Regions from separate parts of the Homo sapiens genome. Here region 2 is linked to region 1. The links are contacts of gene promoters, found by promoter capture Hi-C in human tissues and cell types (Jung and others, 2019). All regions are on one chromosome and are shown on one strand. Each heading gives the region's core, a stretch centred on a gene start or on the middle of the fragment in contact. The rest is flanking DNA. Distances are from core to core; before and after follow the strand shown. Region 1 holds the start of TMEM18 (transmembrane protein 18). Region 2 overlaps MYT1L (myelin transcription factor 1 like).

What was found. The method cuts DNA at HindIII sites, captures the fragments that hold promoters and counts their contacts. A contact is called where the count stands out against the background at its distance.
Region 2: a contact is called between a fragment that was not itself captured here and the fragment with the promoter of TMEM18 in region 1, in 1 of the 25 tissues and cell types used here (IMR-90 fibroblasts).

What each region holds. Positions count from the first base shown.
Region 1 is chr2:674,843-678,655 of GRCh38, reverse strand. It overlaps TMEM18 (transmembrane protein 18), which reads left to right and starts at 1,250. Exons shown (of 5, transcript NM_152834.4): 1 at 1,250-1,367; 2 at 3,026-3,146. The coding sequence starts at 1,311. TMEM18-DT (TMEM18 divergent transcript) reads right to left here and starts at 1,284. Exons shown (of 3, transcript NR_183417.1): 1 at 1,183-1,284. RefSeq lists enhancers at 1,108-1,177, 1,208-1,307, 1,210-1,975, 3,762-3,813 and a silencer at 1,468-1,717. The HindIII fragment of the contact is 18,361 bases long and covers 1-3,813 here.
Region 2 is chr2:1,810,026-1,813,838 of GRCh38, reverse strand. All of the region lies in intron 21 of MYT1L (myelin transcription factor 1 like), which reads left to right. Among named protein-coding and RNA genes, the nearest start is that of PXDN, 67 kb to the right of the region's middle. The HindIII fragment of the contact is 3,644 bases long and covers 311-3,813 here.

The sequences.
Region 1 (3,813 bases), core at 1-2,500:
AGGAGTTCAAAACTAGCCTGGCCAACATGGTGAAACCCCGTCTCTACTAAAAATACAAAAAAAATTAGCCAGGTGAGGTGGCGAACACCTGTAATCCCAGCTACTCGGGAGGCTGAGGCAGGAGAATAGCTTGAACCCAGGAGGCGGAGGTTGCAGTGAGCCGAGGTCCCACCATTGTGCTCCAGCCTGGGCGACAGAGCGAGACATCGTCTTAAAAAAAAAAAAAAAAAACCAGGAAAGCCAAGCCCGAGATTTCCCAAACTCAGCAACAACAGTCGTGATGTTTTGAGAGGAAGGTTGAGAAACACAAAAGAGAGGAAGATGCACTATCTACCTAACGGGATGTTCCTGGAGTTGAATACAGGAAGAATAGAGAAAAATATCAATGAAAGAAATGTTTTCCCATAAGAAGAAACCATGACCTTCTACACTGAAATGAGAGAATGCATGTTAAGTAGCATAAGCAGAAATGACCACACTGTGGAAAGATTTTAAGAAAGATCTGGGAGGGGTTAAAGCTATTAAAAAAAAAAAAAAGTCCACCACTAGAACTATTTTTAGAAACATTAAACTAGTTCAAGAGCTAACATATGCAATTAAAGTATATACACTTAATAATTCATGATGTTAAAATAACAGAATGTTTAATTTGAAAATGTCAAAGTTGGGGTATAGATGTTAAAATAAAGGGAAAAAATTCGCTGGAAGAAAATTAACTTTATATTTTTGTATCTGTCGTTGAACAACGAAGTGAAGCGTAAGAACATCTGGTAAATCTCCAAAGTGAAGACAGATAACCCTAAGCTGACCCAGACTAAGAGTGCACTGCCCTTAGGGTCGCGAGAGCAGACACCTTCCCAAGTCCTGCAGGGTCCGAGGAGTGGGCAATGTCCCCGGCTCCTGCAGGGTCTCGGGGCGGACACCGTCCTCATTGATGCTCTGACCCTTCTAGGGAGTCCCAGGTGGGACAGGGCTGGCGTGGCGGTACAGCGCCCTGAGCCTTTGAAACAAACCTCCTAAATTCCACCCGCCTCCGCCTGCTCCTCTGTTAACGAACTAAAGACGCCCTCGGCCTCCTGGCGGAGCGAGCACAAGTCCCACAGCAGCGTAGTAAGTTTTCCGTATTACAGCGACCACCAGGAAATATCGCGATATCTGGACCTAGCAATGCCATGAAATTACCGCGAGAGGAAGCAAGCGCAAGTTTCGTGAGAAGGGCAGATCTCACGAGAGAGGATTTGGCGCCCTCCTCTGTGGATTCTGGCCAGGCCGGGTTCGGCGGTTGCTGTGAGAGCGGGCTTCCCAACACCATGCCGTCCGCCTTCTCTGTCAGCTCTTTCCCCGTCAGCATCCCAGCCGTGCTCACGGTAACTCGCGGCCCGCGTAACCACCAGTTCGGGGGAGGACGGCGGAGAGGCGTAGGGTAGGCCCCACAGAGCACCCGGCCTGTGGCCAAGAAGGCCCCGGCCGTGGGCGGGGCCTTGTGGCGGAGCGCGCGCGCTGGGCAGGGTCCTGAGACCTGTGGGAGTGGCTCGGGGCCGGCGTCGGGGGCGCGCGCTGTGGGCGGGGTCCTGGGCCCTGTGGGAGGGGGCCGGGGCCGGGCGTCGGGGCGCGAGCGCTAGGCGGGGTCCTGGGCCGTTGGGCGGGGAGGGGCGGGGCCGGGCGGGGCCTTGTGGAGGAGCGTGCGCAGTGAGCTGGCTCCGGCGCTCTGTGGCCCGGGCTTGGGCTGGGCTGGCGTCCTGCACCGTGCGGGCGTGGCTGAGTTGTGTGGGCGGAGCGCGAGGGGTAGGGCTTTGTTCGTGTGGGAGGTGCACGCCGGCCAGTCCAGCGTCTTGCGGGCGGGGCTTGGGCCATGTGGGCGGATTCTGGCAGTGCGGCGGGGCGTGCGTGGTGGAGCCTGATCGTGTGGGGTGGCACGGAGGAACGCTGCCCAGTGTGGGCGGGGCGTGCGCCGTGCCGGGTTCGTCTGACAGATCCCAGGGGAGCCCACGCCCCACGTGGCCGCCAAGGGGTGACATGGGCACTCGATGGGGTCTGGGCAGAAAGCCGTGCTCCCCTCACCTCCGTGCCTCTGGTCTTCTGGTGGGTGCATTGATGGGAGTAGATGCGCTTGTGTCCTTATGTCATGGCGCGGCTCTGGAGAAGCCGCTGCGGTCCCCAGCAGAGAGTAGTGACACAGGAGTTCTGGAGGGCTGTGCCGGGCTGCAGCTTGGAGGGCAGGGCGGGGCTGCAGCTTGGAGGGCAGGGCGGGGCTGCAGCTTGGAGGGCAGGGCTTGTCTTCTGCAGGAGGGCGCTCAAGGAGGGGATGGGGAGGGTTGAGGACTGCTGGGATTGGCATCTGAGCATCAGGTGGGGACTGAGCAGCAGTGGATCTGAGCCTGGCTACTTCAGGTCCCTGAGCCAGACACTGTCCCCAGGTACAGCAGGGTCCCGGGGAGTCCAGGAGGCGGCGGAGTGCGGCACTGTCTGGAGAGTTCAGTGTATTGCAGAGAGGTTGGAGAAAATCAAGTCTTGCACGTGGCGATGGCTCAAGATTCCCTGAGGTCTTCAGTGCTGACTAAGGAGTCTGAAATGATGATTCATGTTTTACCTTTGGGGCTGAGCCAAGTGCATCTCTTTGAGCAATCGTCTTAATTTCCTTGTCGTCACCAATTATCATAACCAATTATCATCGTAAAGGATGGTAATTCCTTTAATTATACCCACCTTAAAAACATGATTCTGTTCCACAAACGAAAGGAGCACATCAGAGATGCCTTCAGTTCTGTGTGCTTGAACTTTGAATTCCATGAATTATAGTTGCACTGAGGGGAGAATCCTGTTTCCATCCTCCTGGTTCCTTCTCCCTTTCCTGTCCCCATGTTTCTCTGAGGCCTGGCAATGCTCTCTGGATACTTGGTGAGTAGCCCAGGAGGACTCAGGAGTGAGAGGCCCCTGCCTCCTGCGCTGGGAGAAGGCTGTGGGTGGGCCGTGAACCCGGCCTTGAGTGGCAGGACAGTGAGTGTCTGCTGGTGTGTTCCTACAGCAGACGGACTGGACTGAGCCCTGGCTCATGGGGCTGGCCACCTTCCACGCGCTCTGCGTGCTCCTCACCTGCTTGTCCTCCCGAAGCTACAGACTACAGATCGGGCACTTTCTGTGTCTAGGTGAGTAAAACAACACAAACTCCACAACTCAGATCACTGTGTGAAATGAAACTGTGTATGTTCTGTCTGTGTCTTCGAAATATATACATATTTTTACAAGACCTCCCAACCCTCTGTCATGTGCCTGCTCCCAGGGCACTCCCGTTTTTCACTCTTGGAAGCTATAAAGAAAACTACTTTTTGGATGTTAGAGTTGAGAGGAATCTGTTGAGTTCCTGTTGCCTACCAGGGAGGTGCTGAGCACCAGCTGCACACAGGAGAGTTGGGTTTCCGGAAGTGCTGTCTTTTACACAAGATGCGTCCTTGGTGGCAGCTGTGCTCATGCACTGCTTTGAATGGGAGGAAGATTGCAAACTGGGAAAGAAAAGTTCTGTGCATAAAATAAGGCATTGCCCAACTTGGTTTCAAGGATAAGGGCTACAGAACTTAGAGAAGTTAGGGAGTTGCACAGGATGACTGAGAAAGATTATTCAGAAAAGCTGAAATCATGGCACAGGGTGTGAAGAGTGAGTAAAATGTTAATAAGAAAAGAGAGGGAGCAGGTGACGGCCCTGGGAGGGCAGCAGCCCGACATGCAGAGACTGAGATAGATGGAAGGTGTGGATCAGAGGCAGAGAAACTGCAAGCCCTCCAGGACCTAAGCACTTCTGATGCTGAGCGTTACGAA
Region 2 (3,813 bases), core at 883-3,382, 1.1 Mb before region 1:
AGCCAGGATGGTCTCGATCTCCTGACCGCGTGATCCGCCCGCCTCGGCCTCCCAAAGTGCTGGGATTACAGGCGTGAGCCACCGCGCCCGGCCGGAAGCTAATTTTTCTACAGAAAAGGGGTGGGATGGTTTCTGGATGAAACCGTTCCACCTGGGATCACCAGGATTAACTTCTAAGGAGCCCGCAGCCCGGACCCCCTCGCAGGCGCAGTTCTCAGTAGCGTTTGCGCTCCTGGGAGAATCGAATCCCGCCGCTGACGTGTCGGGAGGCGGAGCTCAGGTGAGAATGCTCGCCCGCCCACTGCCCACCTCCACCTGTACGGCCCGGTTCCTCACAGGCCACGGCCGGGAGTTTGGGGACCCCTGCTCTAGGAAATATTCCAGCATCGGCAGCTGCTCTCAGAGAAGCTGCTGGAAGCTCTCCTGGGGGAGTGGGGGCAATCACAGCTGTGCCCCTGGGGCCATTTCTCAGCTGTGGGATGGAACGGATGGGACCCAGGCTGAGGCCCAGGGGCCTCGCTGAGGGAGAAAGAAGCACAGACCTGGACTGAAGTGATGAAGAGAAGGGAGGGGGTTCAGGCGCAAACAGCAGAGGCTGCTCGCTGGGAGGACGGCAAGGAGGAGGAGGCGTGCCTTTGTGGCCCTCCCTCTCTCCCCCCCACCTGCAGCTCCTGGCCCCTCAATGCCATTCGCAAACACAGGGAAAGTCGAAAGGGCTGCGGAGGTTCAGACGGCGGAAGGCCAGAGAGGTTCAGCGGGGGAAAGATGGGAGCTGCTCCCTGCATTTGTGAGGATCATACTGAGCCGGGCTGGGCCACACGCACCGTGGACCGACCAGGCGTCACCCTTGTCCTACAGTCACAGTCTTAGGACCTCTGCAGGAGGCCCTCACCCCAGCCCTCCTCTCATCTTAACCCAGGGCGGCAGCTGCATTCAAGAGTCTTTTTTTTTTTTTTTTTTTTTGAGACGGAGTCCTGCTCTGTCACCCAGGCTGGAGTGCAGCAGTGCGATCTCGGCTCACTGCAACCTCTGCCTCCCGGGTTCAAGAGATTCTCCTGCCTCAGCCTCCCAAGTAGCTGGGATTATAGGCACCTGCCACCACGCCCAGCTAATTTTTGTATTTTTAGTAGAGACAGGGTTTCACCATGTTGGCCAGGCTGGTCTGGAACTCCTGACCTCATGATCTGTCCGCCTCGGCCTCACAAAGTGCTAGGATTACAGGCATGAACCACCGCGCCCGGCTAAGAGTCTTCTCTTAACTTGGAAGTCCTGCAAAATCCTGCCGCAGGCCTCTTTGAGGGCTCAGTCTGCACCTTCCAGAGCCTGGGTGCACTCACACTCACCCTGGGCCTCCACTCACTGAGCCATCACAAAGTGCATTCAGACATTTTATGCTTTCAGAAGTCGTCACTGGGCACCTATTCCATCTCCAGCACTCTCCCATCATGGGGATACAGAGCAGTGAACAAAAAAGTGCATTTTAATCCTTGCCCTCAAGAATACACATTCTTTTCATTAAACTTCACAAACACAGTCAATTCAATATTTTATTCTCATTTCATAAGTGAGCAAACAGGACTGCCTAAGTCTTTCCTAGCCAGTTCCACGTCTTATGTGCGTTAGAGCATCAGGGGGTGCGGTGTGAGGTCCAGTGGGCCTCCTGGTCTCACAAAGGACTTGCCAGATGTAGTCACCTGACTGCAGAGTCTACCTGGATGCGGGGGCCAAAGCGCAGACACACCTGCAGGAAGATGTGTGTGACAGCCACAGTGTGTCCAGTGGCAGGAAGGGGAAAAGTGGCGTTAACATCCAAGCATCCTATTTTAGGAGAGCCTTAACAGATCTTTTGAGAACTTCTTATTTTACAAATGAAAATATCCAGCTCGCCTTCAGAAGCAGATTTACGGATAAGCTAGGGAAGCAGAAGTGTCAGCCCCCACCCCAGCCGGATTTGCAGGGCGTCCTGCTGGGATCTGATGGGGAGGCAGGAGAAGACCCAGGAGGGTGCCCCGGAGTGGGGACGACTGCCAGGTTGTTGCCCAGGCCCCATCAGGGAGGACTGAAGAGGAGCCTGTTCCCTCCGGAACGCGAGGGGTTCGTTCACGCCCCACACTAAAGACAGCTTGAGTAGCACAGGGATTTCCGGTGTAAACAGCAGCAGGCAGGGTGAGAGGATCCATCAGAAGCAGCAGTGCCAATGTCTAGTAACAAATAAATGAACAAAAAAACAGCAAAGGGAACCACGAGCCAGGACCCCCTCAGGGACTGTCCGGATTCCTGGGGATGCAGTCAGGGCAAGCAGGAGAAGCCAGGGCGCCCACCGTGCCCACCCTGTCAGGCCACCCAGTTCCCAGAGGCCTCTCTGCTCCTGGGGCTTCCCGTGCGGCTTGCCCTGGGATGGGATAGGACGCGGGAGCTGATGATGCTGGAGCTGATGACGCCAGAGCTGATGACGCCAGAGCTGATGATGCTGGAGCTGATGACGCTGGGGTTAAAGTCCCCGCTGCTCCTTCTCCCACTGAACCTAGGAACATCATCAGCAAACACAGCAGTTCACAGCCACAGAGTTGTGGTATGAGCAACAAATACTGGTGATTGTCTTAGACGTTCCAGGGCTGCAAAAACAAATACCATACCTTGGGCAGCATAGAAACCAGAAATTTATTCCTCCAAGTTCTGGAGACTGGAAGTCCGAGACCGAGGCACCAGCAGATTCGGCATCTGGCAACTGCTGCTCTCTGGTTGGTGGACGACGCCTTCTCACTCTGTCCTCACATGGGAGAAGGGGTTAAGGAGCTGTCTGGGTCCCTGTTATAAGGGCACGGATCCCATCACGAGGCCTCCTCACTTCCCATACGCCCCTTCTCCTAACACCATCCCGGTGGGGGTCAGGATTTCAGTGCACGAGTTTTCAGGGGACACAGTCAGGCAACAGCAATGATTATTTAGAATTTTATGAATATTCTATTATAATTATGAGATGCAAACATCACATCAAAAAAATAACAACTTAGACCTGTGGTGTGGATGAAGAATACTGGAAATATTTTTATACAAAGATAGGATTTCCCCAAAAACAACCACTAATATCCCCAGTTGAAAATGTATTACGATCAAGTTCTTCTGCTATGAATTTTCCTGTTTTCTTAAATTTTAAAAGAAAATGTATTACAAAAATAATATTTAGAAAGCTTAATTATATTAATGCAGATATTAGAGATATTTCTAATAATGATGTAATCTGCCTGCACTAGTAAAGAGTGTTTCTAGATATATCACTAACACATCATCACACCACTTACGGACACGGTCCATCTAACACTTCATATACAGGTGAAATACAATATTATGTATAGAGAGAATAAACACATATGTCATATACATATATAAAACATTATAGGCGGGGTGCGGTGGCTCATGCCTGTAATCCTAGCACTTTGGGAGGCCAAGGCGGGCAGATCACCTGAGGTCAGGAGTTGAAGACCAGCCTGGCCAATATGGTGAAACCCTGTCTCTACTAAAAATACAAAAATTAGCCAGGTGTGGTGGCACACACCTGTAATCCCAGAGGCTATAATTCTGTAATCGGGAGGCTGAGGCGGGAGAATCACTGGAACCCAGGAGGCAGAGGCTGCAGTGAGCCGACATCGGGCCACTGCACTCCAGCCTGGGTGACAGAGCAAGACCCTCTCAAAAAAAAAAAAAAAAAGCGTTATATATAGAAGTTTTTCACCTCACCCATAGTTAAGTGCCAGATGGCCCCTGGCCTTTAGCACAGTGAGGACTCCAGTTGACCAGCACGTCCAGGAGCCC